Linked DNA regions of Homo sapiens: regions 2 and 3 are each linked to region 1. The links are contacts of gene promoters, found by promoter capture Hi-C in human tissues and cell types (Jung and others, 2019). All regions are on one chromosome and are shown on one strand. Each heading gives the region's core, a stretch centred on a gene start or on the middle of the fragment in contact. The rest is flanking DNA. Distances are from core to core; before and after follow the strand shown.

Region 1 (4,306 bases), core at 975-3,474:
TTAAGTTCTGAGCTCTGTTTGGGCCCAAGTCCAATAGGTCACAAAAGGCTCAGTCTAAAAAAAAGAAATGTCCTGACAGTGCAGCTTTGCCCTAAGAGTCACCTCCATCTCTGGTTCTCCTGGCATTCCATCAGTTAGAGGAGAGCCCTAGCAGCGCCAAAAGGCCTCCTGTAGAGTGGGGGTTTTTGGAGAATTATGAAAGGAACCGTGTTCTGTACTTATTAAAAATTAGTTTCTAAACTGTGTTATGTGATGGGAGGGATGTGTGTCATAGTGATTACAAGGAAAACATGAAGATTACAAAGGAACAATCCTATGGAAAAACCGCGGAGACATTTCAAGAAAAGTGTATATTTCAAGAGGAGTGTGTATTTTCTCCTCCGGAAAAATAAAAGACCTGTGAATAATGATTGAAAAAACAGACAAGACCGCTCCATCAGTTTAAAGGGGGAATAGGGGAGAGATGGCCAATTCAAACATTTTTTCCAAATTACATGGAAAGAAAAACACTGTGTTAAGTTGTGAATCTGTATACGTTAATACTATCGTTAAAACCAACTGCTTGGCCAGACGCGGTGGCTCACACCTGTAATCCCAGCACTTTGGGAGGCTGAGGCAAGCGGATCACTTGAAGTCAGGAGTTTGAGACCAGCCTGGTCAACGTGGCGAAACCCCATCTCTACTGAAAATACAAGTATTAGCCAGGTGTGGTGGCACACGCTTGTAGTCCCAGCTACTCGGGAGGTTGAGGCAGGAGAATCACTTGAACCTGGGAGCCTGACATTGCAGTGAGCTGAGATCACACCACTGTACTCCAGTCTGGGTGACAGAGTGAGACTCCATCTCAAAAACAAAAAACAAGAAACAAAACAAAGAATGGTCAAAGCACTTGTGAATCTGAAGTACCTACTTTCTTTTCTTCTTATTTTTTTAGAAACAGGATTTCACTCTGTCCCCCGGGGCTGGAGTACATTGACTTGATCATGGTTCACTGTGGCTTCAACCTCATGGGCTCAACCGATTCTCCTGCCTCAGCCTCCCGAGTAACTGGGACTACTGTCGCGTACCACCACAACTGGATAATTTAAAAAATTTTTTTTGTAGAGATGGGGTCTCACCATGTTGCCCAGGCTGGTCTCAAACTCCTCGGCTTGAGGGATCCTCCCACCTTAGCCTCCCAAAGTTCTGGGATCATCATTATTGAATATTATGACAATTTGGGCTATGGGAGGAAAGATTGGGTAGAAAAACAGCCCATAAGAATGCTCAAAACCCTTGCAAGGTTGAAGTATTTACTTTTTCTTTTTTGAGACAGGGTCTTGCTGCAGACCAGGTTGGAGTGCAGTGGTGTGATCAGAGATCACTGCAGCCTGCACCTCCTGGGCTCAAGCACTCCTCCGCCTCAGCTTCCTGAGTAGCTGGAACTGCAGGTGCGCGCCACCACGCCCGGCTACTTTTTTAATTTTTATTTTTGTAGAGACGGGGATCTCACTTTGTTGCCCAGGCTGGTCTCGAACTCCTGGGCTTAATCGCTCTTCCGGTCTCTGTCCCCCAAAGTGCTGGGATTAGAGGGGTGAGCCACCGCACCGGCCTTGAGTCCCTATTTTCCTGGAATGAACATTGCATTTCATCTGACAAAAGGACGGTTTCAGTTTCCTCCTCTGCAAAATGGGGTGGGGGTGGAATTCCCATCTTGCAGCCGAGAATTCCCTGATAATAAACGTCGAGTACCGAGCGCGGTTGAGGCGCAGGAGCCTACCCAACGGGAGCAGCTCACTAGGACATTCAGAGCAATCTGGAAAAGTGGGCACGGGCAGCCCCAGACGTCATCCCCGGACCCCGCTGCCCAGCAGCGCCCGGACGCCAGCGTTGTCCGTGTCCCAACACCGAAGCCCGCGTTTGGCCGCAACCCCTCCAGGCCCTGCTCCTCCCACGCCGCCGCGGAGCGGATCTTCCACAGAAACCACACACAAACGTCCGTTCCGAGAGCGACCTGCTTTCTCGGAAGGCGTCGCGGCCACAGCTCGCCTTCCTGTCGCTCCCAGGCCGGGCGCCAGGTCTCCCATAGCAACCGCGGCCTCCAGCGATGGCCGCCAGGGCACCACCGGAACCCTCTTCGCAGGCACAGAGAGGCGCGGGTACGTAACTTCCGCTCGCGCCCGGCGGAAGCCAGGGGGCGGGGCTTGCGTGGCGGCGTCAAGGGGCGGTGCCTCGGGTGGCGGGAAGAGGAGGCGCGAGAATGGAGGTGGAGGCCGTCTGTGGTGGCGCGGGCGAGGTGGAGGCCCAGGACTCTGACCCTGCCCCTGCCTTCAGCAAGGCCCCCGGCAGCGCCGGCCACTACGAACTGCCGTGGTGAGGTCCCAGGCCGTAAAGAATGGGCGCGTTTGGACGTGAGGGTGGGCGAGTGGCGGGCCGTGCTCCGGAGAAACTCGGGGGTCAGGGGCTCGTTTTGGGGAATCCCGAGGGAGGAGGAGGCCCCGGGTGGCATCGAGATGATTTCAAGAAGGCGACGGACATGGATCGAGAGTGGCCGGTCTAAACTCTGCGAGCGGAGTCTCGCTCACTACAATGCTTATGACAATTAGGGCTACCCCGGGTGGCCACCTACTCTGACCTAGTTGGTTTTTTCAAAAGTTTTTGTGTATAGTAGTGTATGACCTAGTGTTTTCAAAAACTTCAATCTTTTAAAAAAAATATCGATTACATGTTGAAAATAATATTTTGACTGTTAGGTTCAATAACATTTACATTTGAAATTTTTTTAAAAAAATCAAGACGGGGGTTTTGCTGTGTTGCCCAGGCTGATGTCCAGCTCCTTGGCTCAAGTGATCCCCCTGCCTCAGCCTCCTAAGTAGATGGGACTACAGGCACGCACCACCATGCCCAGTTAATTTTTTTTTTTTAGATGGAGTCACACTTTGTCACACAGGCTGGAGTGCAGTGGTGTGATTTCTGCTCACTACAACCTGCATCTCCCTGGTTCAATCAATTCTGCCTCAGCCTTCCTAGTAGCTGGGATTACAGGCATGTACCATCACACCCTGCTAATTTTGTGTTTTTAGTAGAGGCTGGGTTTCACCATGTTGGCCAGGCTGGTCTCGAAGTCCTGATCTCAAGTGATCCGTCCGCCTCGCCTTCCCAAAGTGCTGGGATTACAGGCATGAGCCACTGTACCCAGCCTAGGCCTACGGTGTCTAGCCAGCTATGCTGTGTATTTGGCACACGTCTGCAGAAACTGGCAGGTAATCCTTGCCTGGCATGGTGGCTCACGCCAGTAATCCCAGCACTTTGGGAGGCTGAGGTGGGCAGATCACCTGAGGTTGGTAGTGACCCAAGATCGCACCATTGCACTCCAGCCTGGGCAACAAGAGCAAAACTCTGTCTCCAAAAAAAAAAAAAAGAAAAGAAACTGGCAGGTAAGGGATGAGAAAGGAGCTTGGTTGCACCCATGTTGTCACACCAAATGATGTCAGTGCTGTATGTGCTGGGCCTCTTGTGACGGGCGGACAGGGTTGCAGCACAGTGTCACATTGCTCCAGATGACCTGTGCTGGCCGTGCTCCAGCAGCAACAGGTGTTTCTCTGCTGTGGCAGGTTTGAAGCCTATGCTGTACAATTCTCATGCCTTTAACTTTTCAAATGGCACTTGGGCATCTTATTACATTTTATTTATTTATTATTTATTTTTGAAACAGAGTCTCACTCTGTAGCCCGGGCTGGAGTATAGTGGCATGCATGATCTCAGCTCACTGCAACTTCTGCCTCCCAGGTTCGAGCTACTGTGCCTTAGCCTCCCAAGTAGCTGGGATTACAGACGCACACCACCACATCCAGCTAATTTTTGTATTTTAAGTAGAGATGAGGTTTCACCATGTTGGCCAGACTGGGCTCAAACTCCTGACCTCAATTGATCCACCCGCCTCAGCCTCACAAAGTGCTAGGATTACAGGTGTGAGCCACTGCGCCTGGCTGTCATCTTATTACATTTAAAACTTGCAACCATTTGGCATAGTTGTACTGAATGTATGTAATTTTTTAACAAAGCTCTCAGGATAACCCTTAGGTGCTTTTTGTGGGGTAGTGTGAAGATAACCATGTCAGCATTTTTATGCATTTTCTTAACAGGGTTGAAAAATATAGGCCAGTAAAGCTGAATGAAATTGTCGGGAATGAAGACACCGTGAGCAGGCTAGAGGTGAGTGGCTTTTTTTTTTTTTGAGACAGAGTCTCGCTCTGTCGCCCAGGCTGGAGTGCAGTGGTGCGATCTCCGCTCACTGCAAGCTCCGCCTCCCGGGTTCATGCCATTC
Region 2 (4,306 bases), core at 828-3,327, 120 kb before region 1:
CCCCATCTCTACAAAAACTATAAAAATTAGCCAGGTGTGGTGGGGCACACCTGTGGTCCTGGCGACTTGGAAGGCTGAAGTGGGAGGCTCGCTCAAGCCTGGGAGGTTGAGACTGTAGTGAGCCATGATCATGCCACTGCACTCCAGCCTGGGAGACAGAACAAGACCCTGTCTCAAAAACAAAACCAAAAAAAAGGCCAGGGATGGTGCCTCACGCCTGTAATCCCAGCACTTTGGGAGGCCGAGGCGGGCAGATCACCTGAAGTCAGGAGTTTGAGACCAGCCTGGACTACCTGGCGAAACCCCACCTCTACTAAAAATATAAGAATTAGCTGGGCGTGGTGGTGCATGCCTGTAATTGCAGCTACTTGGGAGGCTGATACAGGAGAATTGCTTGAACCTGGGAGGCGGAGGTTGCAGTGAGCCGAGATCCCACCACTGCACTCCAGCCTGGGCAACAAGAGCAAAACTCCATCTCAAAAAAAAAAAAAATGTATGTGGGGGAACTGGAAACTCAAGAATCTCTGAGTACAATTTGTATACAGGCAAGAGTCCGTTGCTAGCCATCCCTCCTATGAATTAATTCCTGTTGTCTTGGGCACTCTCTGTCAGCCCCACAGGGAATGGGGTTGAACATCTCTGCCACTGAGAGGCTGTGGACCTGGGAAAGTCTTGGTTTGCTCACCTGTGAAATGGAGCCAGTATCAATCTAAGGATGTTAAGGTGAAATGGAGTCACATAGGGCCTGGCATAAGACGTGGTACCCAGAGCCACTCAAAAGGCCCTTCCTGGCCCTGGTGGAGTGGGCACAGCCCACCTGGGTGTTGACCTCCTCAGAGGGGCTGGGAGGATGGGTTCAGCTGAAGGAAGAAGGGGTAGATGCTTAAGGAATTTCTAGATTTGGAGCAAAATTGACATTGGTGACAGCGACCTCTTTAGGGCCACCCCCTCTAGCCTTCCAGACCCCACTCCGGGAACTCCCACATTCTGGGGAAGTACTCGTTGGCACCGTTGCTAAAGTCTCATTAGGACTGGCAGAAAGGGGGCTGCCGCTGATTCCCCAGGTGAGCTTCTAAGTTGGAGATGGGTGCCCCCAGGGGGATAGGCAGAGCTTGCCTTCAGGTCTGTGCCAGCCCCAGGGCACAGGGTCTGAGGTCCCGGGTCCTAGGAGCCCTGCACCCTAAGACATGTATGGGTAAATCAAAGCCCGTCCTCTGCACGGAGGTCCCATCTCTCCAGGTCTGCTCTGTGCGGGGGGATGCAGCCAGGTCAGCTCAGACCAGCTTCGGTTCTCCCTGGTCACCAGGGCGCACTGCCCCTCTAACAGAGGGCCAAGGAGCTCCTCCTCCTCTAAGCCAGGTGACCCCTTCCTTGACTGCCCCAGGCATGCTCTCGGGGACAAGGGAAATGCTTCCTGGGCTGCAGAACAGAGGTCAGCAAAAGGCCAAGCCCTCCCCAGCCCGACCCTCCCGCCCCAGCAGGAGGGGCAGGCGCCTACGTGGGTGTGCTGGGAGGAGCACAGGGCCTCGACCGCCTGGAGTCTGTTCTCAGCCACCAGGAGCTTCTCCCGCAAACTCTCGACCTCCTGTTTGCCCTGGGCTTCTGCCCGCTGCAGCCGCTCGTAGTCCAACATCTTCTTCTCGGCCAGCGAGATCTGCTCCTTGAGGAACTCGATAGCCTGCGCCTGGCCCCGGTACTCCACGTCCAGTTTTTCCAGCTCGTGCACACGCAGCTCGGCATCCCGGCGCTGGTCCTGGGCCTCCTGCAGCTCCAGCCGGTGCTGGCTGGCTTGCACCTCCAGCTGGGCCCGCCAGTGCCGCTGCAGCCCAGCCAGCTCCTCCTGGGCCTCCTGCAGCTTCTCTCGCAGGGCCTCCTTCTCCTTCACGTGCATGGCGGTCTCCAGGTCATGCTTGGCCTGCAAGTTACCCAGCTCCAGCTGGTGCTCCATCTTGATGCCCTCCATCACTGCCTTCAGCTCGCCGATCTCCTTCTGCTGGGCGCCTGGGCCCGAGTTCAGGGTGGCTTTGAGGTCCTCCAGGGACTTCTGGTGGTCCGAGGCCAGCGAGTCCAGCTTGGATTTCCAGTTGTCCATTAGCCCCATGTTCTCGCTGGTGGCCTGCTGAACCTTGTCCTTCAGGCCCGCCACCTCCTGTGCGTACTTCTCGTTGGCCGCGCGGAGCTTGTCCACCTCCGCCTGGTAGGCCTTCAGGGCCTTCTCGTATTTATCCCGCAGCACCCCACTCTCCCTCTGGTGTTCCTTGCTGGCCGAGAGCAGCCGCTCCCGTAGCCGCAGGATCTCGGCGGCGTCTGGGTGGTCCGGAGGTGGGGGACCCGAGTGCAACAGGCACTGCTGGAGCTCCTCGATTTCACCTCGGCGCAGGGTGAGCTCCTCCTCCAGCTGCAGCACGCGCGACTTCTCGGCCACTGTGGTCAGCTGTGGGGAGAGAGGGAGACAGGGATCAGCGGGCTGGCTGGCTGGCTGGAAGGTAAGGAGGGCACAATGGTGGGGGCCGGGTAGGGGGCGTCCATTCGAGGGCACCAGCCCCAGCAGGTGGAGGTCATGGGAAGGGAAAGGCGCTCACTCCCTCCTGAGTGCTGGCTGGATGTAGAGGCCTGGCCCATCACAGTATCCAGAAAGACTTCCCTGGCTGTACCCCAAAGATTCAGAGCCAACTGTCGCCACTCCTCTACCTAGGTGGCTTGGACAAATTGGTGGTTAAAAGAAACCACCTATTTGAGGTTACAGCTTTTTTTTTTTTTTTTTTTTTTTTTTTGAGTCTCGCTCTGTCACGCAGGCTGGAATGCAGTGGCGTGATCTCACCTCACTGCAACCTCTACTTCCCAGGTTCAAGCGATTCTCCTGCCTCAGCCTCCCGAGTAGCTGGGACTACAGGCATGCACCACCATGCGCCTGGGGAATTTTTGTGTTTTTTTAGTAAAGATGGGGTGTCACTCTTTTGCCTAGGCTGGTCTCGAACTCCTAGCCTCAAGTGATCCACCCGCCCTGGCGTCCCAAAGTGTTGGGATTATAGGCATGAGCCACCGCCCAGCATTTTTTTTTTTTTTAAAAGAGACGGGGGTCTAGCTATGTTGCCCAGGCTGGAGTGCAGCCGTGCAATAATAGCTCACTGTACCCTCAAATTCCTGGGCTCAAGCAATCTTCCTGCCTCAGCCTCAAAAGCAGCTGGGACTCTATGGGCATGAGCCACCATGCCCAACTGAGTTAAAGTTCTTTGTATTTTTATTAAGAAATTTTTTTTTTGTTAACATTCTTTTTAAAGAACAGAGGCCACAGTGAATTTTGCATTATCCTGCCTTAGGAAGGATATCCAGCCCAAGGGGCTGGCTGGAGGCAGTGGCCAAGAAGGGTCCAGTTTAATGCTTAAAGCAGAAGAGGGTGCTCCCAGACCCATCTTTCAACAAAAAACTCTTAGAGGCTCCATTCTCCAAAAAACCACCTTGATCACGTTGATGGTCATAGATATGAAAATGATATATTTTCAAGCTTTAAATCTATTACAAGCTTTAAACATTTTGTTTCTGAAGGTATCCTTTAGTTCAATAAACTTATTGTTTTGTTTTTTGGTTTTTGTTTTTTTCGAGATGGAGTCTCACTCTCTTGCCCAGGCTGGAGTGTAGTGGCACCATCTCGGCTCACTGCAACCTCCACCTCCCCGGTTCAAATGATTCTCCTGTCTCAGCCTCCCAAGTAGCTGGGACTACAGGCGTGCACCACCCCGCTCAGTTAATTTTTGTATTTTTAATAGAGACAGGGTTTCACCATGTTGGCCAGTCTGGTCTTGAACTCCTGACCTCAGATGACCTCAGATGATTCACCAACCTTGGCCTCCCAAAGTGCTGGGATTACAGGTGTGAGCCACCACACCCAGCCCTGTTTTTGTGTTTTCATCAGGTTGAACCCTAGATCAAGATGCATTTGGAGGGCTCCGGCCGGTCCGCCGTGACTGGGTCAGTTTGTGCGTTCAGTCTTCATGCACATGAGTGTGTACCGTACAAGCACATGGTCACTGAGCAATGGCCAGTGTGTGCAAATGGACCCTGTGTGTCTCTGGACACCTGCACACATGCACACAGCCACTTGTGCACGGAGACCAACATGCAGAAACTGACCACTGCTCCTTCTACATCTACATACTGTTTATGGGGTGCTTTTCCAGTCATCACTTGCTGCCTGTTTTTGCTTGCTCTCAGAGGGACTGCTGGGGGGCCGGCTGGCTGTTCGCATGTGAGTGCCTGCACAGAGTGCTGGGTCCCAGGCGTGCATGGTAAGCCTGGAGGGGACTGT
Region 3 (4,306 bases), core at 1,326-3,825, 71 kb after region 1:
TCGTTAGAAGTGAAGTGCCAAGATGGCCAACATTTGTTTTCAAGCAGGTCAGCATAAAGGGCATGTGTGCCGGTATACAGCAAGGATTCAGCAAACAAGGCAGAATAGTCACTTCTGCATCCACTAGCGTCATCCAACTGTACCATTATTTCAACCTTATTGTAGATTTGAAAATTTCCAAAATAAAACGTTTGGAAAACTCAGGAGGAAAAAAAAATTAAGGGGGTGATTTTTTTTTGAAACAGACATTTAACCCATTTCCTGTTTGCTCCAAGAATACCGTGCTGGCAGCCAACTGCAGTTTTTTTTTCTAAACGGGAAATGCGTTCAAATAAATGAGATCCTTCACAACAACCCAAGACCTGCCCAAAGTCACCCTCTTTGCAGGGGAAATATTAATATCCATCTTAGAGAGCAACCTGGTCTTTCATCTACATACTGCCAGAAACACAATGGAAATTCCACTTCTTCCTGAAGATAAATTCCAGGTGTCTTGCAGACAAATATTATTCATTAAAGCATTTTTCTAAAGTAGAAGGGTCAACCAAGCTGTGATGATTCTTTGATGGTTAAAAAAAAAAAAGCTTTTAAGTTTCATAATTCACAATTCCGGTACTTTCCAATAGGAAGTTCCACGTTCTGTTCTAAGACCACCAGAAAATAGGTTTACAAGTGAATTGCATCCTACCTGCCCACTTCTCCCATCTTTTCGGGCCTAGTAAATGTGACTTACTTTGCATTTCAATAACCTTTGCCAATAGTACTCTATCGCTGATATCTCCGAAATCATAAATCCTAAAATATTTTCAGTAAGATACTATTTAGGACGGGATAATAAATATATGAGTTACAGTATAAAGCCGGGCCCAGTGGCTCATGCCTGTAATCCCAACAGTTTGGGAGGCTGAGGCGGGAGGATCACTTAAAGCCAGGAGTTCAAGACCAGCCTGGGCAACACAGTAAGACCCCATCTCTATAAAAAATACAAAAAATTAGCCGGGAGTGATGGTCCACACTTGTAGTCCCAAGCTACCTGGGAGGCTGAGGTGGGAGGATCACCTGAGCCCAGGAGGTTGTTGCTGCAGTGAACTGTGATGGCACCACTGCACTCCAGCCTGGGTGACAGAAGGAGACTGTCTCCAACTGAAGAAACAACAACAACAACAAAAAGGCGGGGCACAGTGGCTCATACCTGTAATCCCAGCACTTCGGGAGGTCAAGGTGGGTGGATCACTTGAGGCCAGAAGTTCAAGACCAGCCTGGCCAACATGGTAAAACTCCGTCTCTACTAAAAATACAAAAACTAGCCAGGTGTGGTAGCACACACTTGTAATCCCAGCTACTTCAGAGGCTGAGGTGGAGCTTGCAGTGAGCTGAGACTGTGTCACTGCGCTTCAGCCTGGGCTACAGAGCGAGACTCCATCTCAAAAAAACAAAAACAAAAAAACACAAAAAACAAACAAAAAAGCACAAAAAACAACAACAAAACCAAACAAACAAAAAACAAGATACAGTATAAACATGTGGAAAACCATAAAAATGGAGGGTCAATGTTAAAAACAGTTTAAATTCATTACTCAACATTAAACATCTAGTGATGCGTAATGATGTTAAAAGACTGTCTTGTATGTAAGCAGCTCACAGTTGTGTGGGACGTATAAAACACATGTATATATGCAGGTATGTTTGTGTGTATGAATGTGTAACATATACATAAAAACTAAAAAGGAGGGTGAGGATGAAGAGAGATGATAAACTCTCGGGTGTTTGATGTAGTTGCTAAGTAAGGAAAATGGAGGTGCGAAGGCTTGCTAATTGTGCTCGAACTTACAGAGTAGAGGAACTGTGGAACTGAGATCAGGCCAGACTTGACCCCTGATTGAGCACAGGAAGCCCAGGTGAATGCCAGTAAGATGACGGGGCACTGCTAAAAATGCACTAGGACAGGAAGGTGGCTCTGGCTTTGGAGAAGATAGAAAAATCTAGTTTGGGGCAAACCATTTTTGAAAAGTTGGCACGTTACCAAATGGCAGCACCTAACAGCTAACTGGTGATATAATTCTGGAGCAAAGATACACCAAAGCCCACCAAACTGTTCAACTCACTCGTGCCTCACAAAACCACCAGTGGCTTAATACTCTAGACTTTTCAATAATTACCAAAGTAGTCCTAAATATTCCCATACCCTACCTGATGTAGTCCCTTCTACAGGTCTTAAGCACTTTTTACCTTTTCATCCCATTCAATGAAATCACTAGGGGGCAGCAGGGCTGGGCCATGGAGGTAGACCTCATTCAAGCTAGCACTGGTAAAGTGTCCACTGTGTGACAGTCACTTGAGACACATCACATAGGATGTGAGTACCCCAGAGTACACATCACATAGGATGACATCACATCACATCACATAGGATGACACAGATCTGTTACCCACCGATTCATTTACAAAATCAAATGTCAGAAAACTCTGAGCTAAAATGTCTGCCACCTTTCACTAGATTCAAGTTTGGGGGACTACTACCTAAATAAATAAGCTGTGTTTCGTGAAATTCAGTACATTCCTACACAGATCAATAACAACACATGGGAGAACAGGTTCACTTGACACCTTAGCTAGCTTGATGTAGGACCTCTGCCAAATTACCTCTGTACCTATGTTTTCTTGTCTGTTATATTTCAATCTTGATTTTATAAGTTTAAAACTGACCATAAAAACATTTCCTAAGTACCAAGTGCTATATAATTCTGCCATGCTCCTGGGTAGACCCAACAGGCCTGAGGCTACACTGGGCTGGCAGGAGTGCGTGTAGAACAGGAACAGATCAGCAGAGCGTGCCAATTCAGGACACCTGAAGTCAAGGTCTGTGCTGCAAACTCCCTGCCACTACTGAGCAGTGTCCTTTCTACTGCCCATTAGGGACAGTCTATTGATTATGAAAGATTAAAGTAGTCAATTACAGCCTCAGTAATTTAGGAAACCCTACTTTCGGCTCCAAGTGTGACTAAAATCCTTGACAGGCAAATCACTTTTCCTTACTCAAATCAACCACGTATCTGCATGTCTATGAAGGGTGGAGAGAATGTAGAGAAGGCACAAACCTAAGACTCGGTTTCTGCCCTCAAGGAGCTGATAATTTGGAAAGGAGAAATCACGTCACAAGCAAAGGACTGCAGAAAATCTGGAAGATAGCAATGAGAACAGTTTCACCAGGGTGGAGCAGTTGGGAGCCAGGATATGCAGCACAGCAGAGAGCAACAGAAGTGGGACTCCACTTCCAGATGGCAGATGGGGCCAATACTGAACCCTTAGGGTGAGCCAGAAAAGATCTGTAGGTGTCAAAGGAGACTGAGAGAGGGTAACTATAAAAAGAAGCCAATGTACAGAGTAGATGTTATGAGGGTAGGGATGTATCCAGTAAGTAGATGCAACAGAAAGTTGAGTGCTCAAGGCTGGGCATGGGCATGTGGCTCCGGCCTGTAGTCCCAGCACTTTGGGACTGTGATTGTGCAACTGCACTCCAGCCTGGGCAACAGGGCAAGACTATGCCTCCAAATTATGAGACACATCTCATTTAAACCTCCCAACAGAGGAGTTTCTAGCTCTCATTTGGGGAAAGTAGGGCCCAGAAGGGTAAAGTAGTGTAAACCAAAGAAAATGACTGGCCGGACGCCATGGCTCACACCTGCAATCCCGGCACTTCGGGAGGCCAAGGTGGGGAGATCACTTGAGCTCAGGAGTTTGAGACCAGCGTGGGGAACACGGCAAAACCCCATATCTACAAACAGGTAACATTTGGGTTTTTGACAATCATCAAAAATGGTTAAGCTTTCAAAGGTCAAGCCTTTGATAAATACCATTTATACTACCTATTATAAACCATAGTAGTATAGAGAAGAGTGGTCACTTAAAGAGTAGGTAATGGGTATACAGGTCACTATATTATGCTTTGGTTCGTGTTCTAAATTTTCTACATTTTTCTGTAATGTTTTGCATATTCAAACAATCCAACTATACAAAGTCATCTTTGCAAAAACTGGGAAAAACTGAACACTGGGTACTGGAAAAACTGTTGGTTAAAGAAAAAAAAGAAGCCCTTATCTGTTAGAAACATACTCAAGTATGAAAAGTATGTAAGAGGCCGGGTGTGGTGGCTCACACCTATAATCCCAGCACTTTGGGAGGCTGAAGCGGATGAATCACAAGGTCAGGAGTTCAAGACCAACCCGGCCAACATGGTGAAACCCCATCTCTACTAACAGTACAAAAATCAGCTGGGCACAGTGGCAGGTGCCTGTAATCCCAGCTA

Evidence for each region. Contacts are between HindIII fragments. The study calls those that stand out against the background at their distance.
Region 2: a fragment that was not itself captured here is called in contact with the fragment with the promoter of RFC2 in region 1 in 3 of the 25 tissues and cell types used here (dorsolateral prefrontal cortex, hippocampus and mesenchymal stem cells).
Region 3: a contact is called between a fragment that was not itself captured here and the fragment with the promoter of RFC2 in region 1, in 4 of the 25 tissues and cell types used here (IMR-90 fibroblasts, dorsolateral prefrontal cortex, lymphoblastoid cells and 1 more).

What each region holds. Positions count from the first base shown.
Region 1 is chr7:74,252,317-74,256,622 of GRCh38, reverse strand. RFC2 (replication factor C subunit 2) reads left to right here and starts at 2,224. Exons shown (of 11, transcript NM_181471.3): 1 at 2,224-2,352; 2 at 4,125-4,194. The coding sequence starts at 2,240. RefSeq lists enhancers at 1,831-1,910, 1,384-1,986, 2,321-2,550, 1,987-2,589, 2,590-3,192 and 2 more and a silencer at 2,151-2,270. The HindIII fragment of the contact is 19,783 bases long and covers 1-4,306 here.
Region 2 is chr7:74,374,015-74,378,320 of GRCh38, reverse strand. It overlaps CLIP2 (CAP-Gly domain containing linker protein 2), which reads right to left. Exons shown (of 17, transcript NM_003388.5): 10 at 1,499-2,434. Among named protein-coding and RNA genes, the nearest start is that of GTF2IRD1, 78 kb to the left of the region's middle. The HindIII fragment of the contact is 5,767 bases long and covers 1-4,306 here.
Region 3 is chr7:74,181,845-74,186,150 of GRCh38, reverse strand. The region is part of intron 1 of EIF4H (eukaryotic translation initiation factor 4H); the gene reads right to left. Among named protein-coding and RNA genes, the nearest start is that of MIR590, 7.2 kb to the left of the region's middle. The HindIII fragment of the contact is 4,931 bases long and covers 110-4,306 here.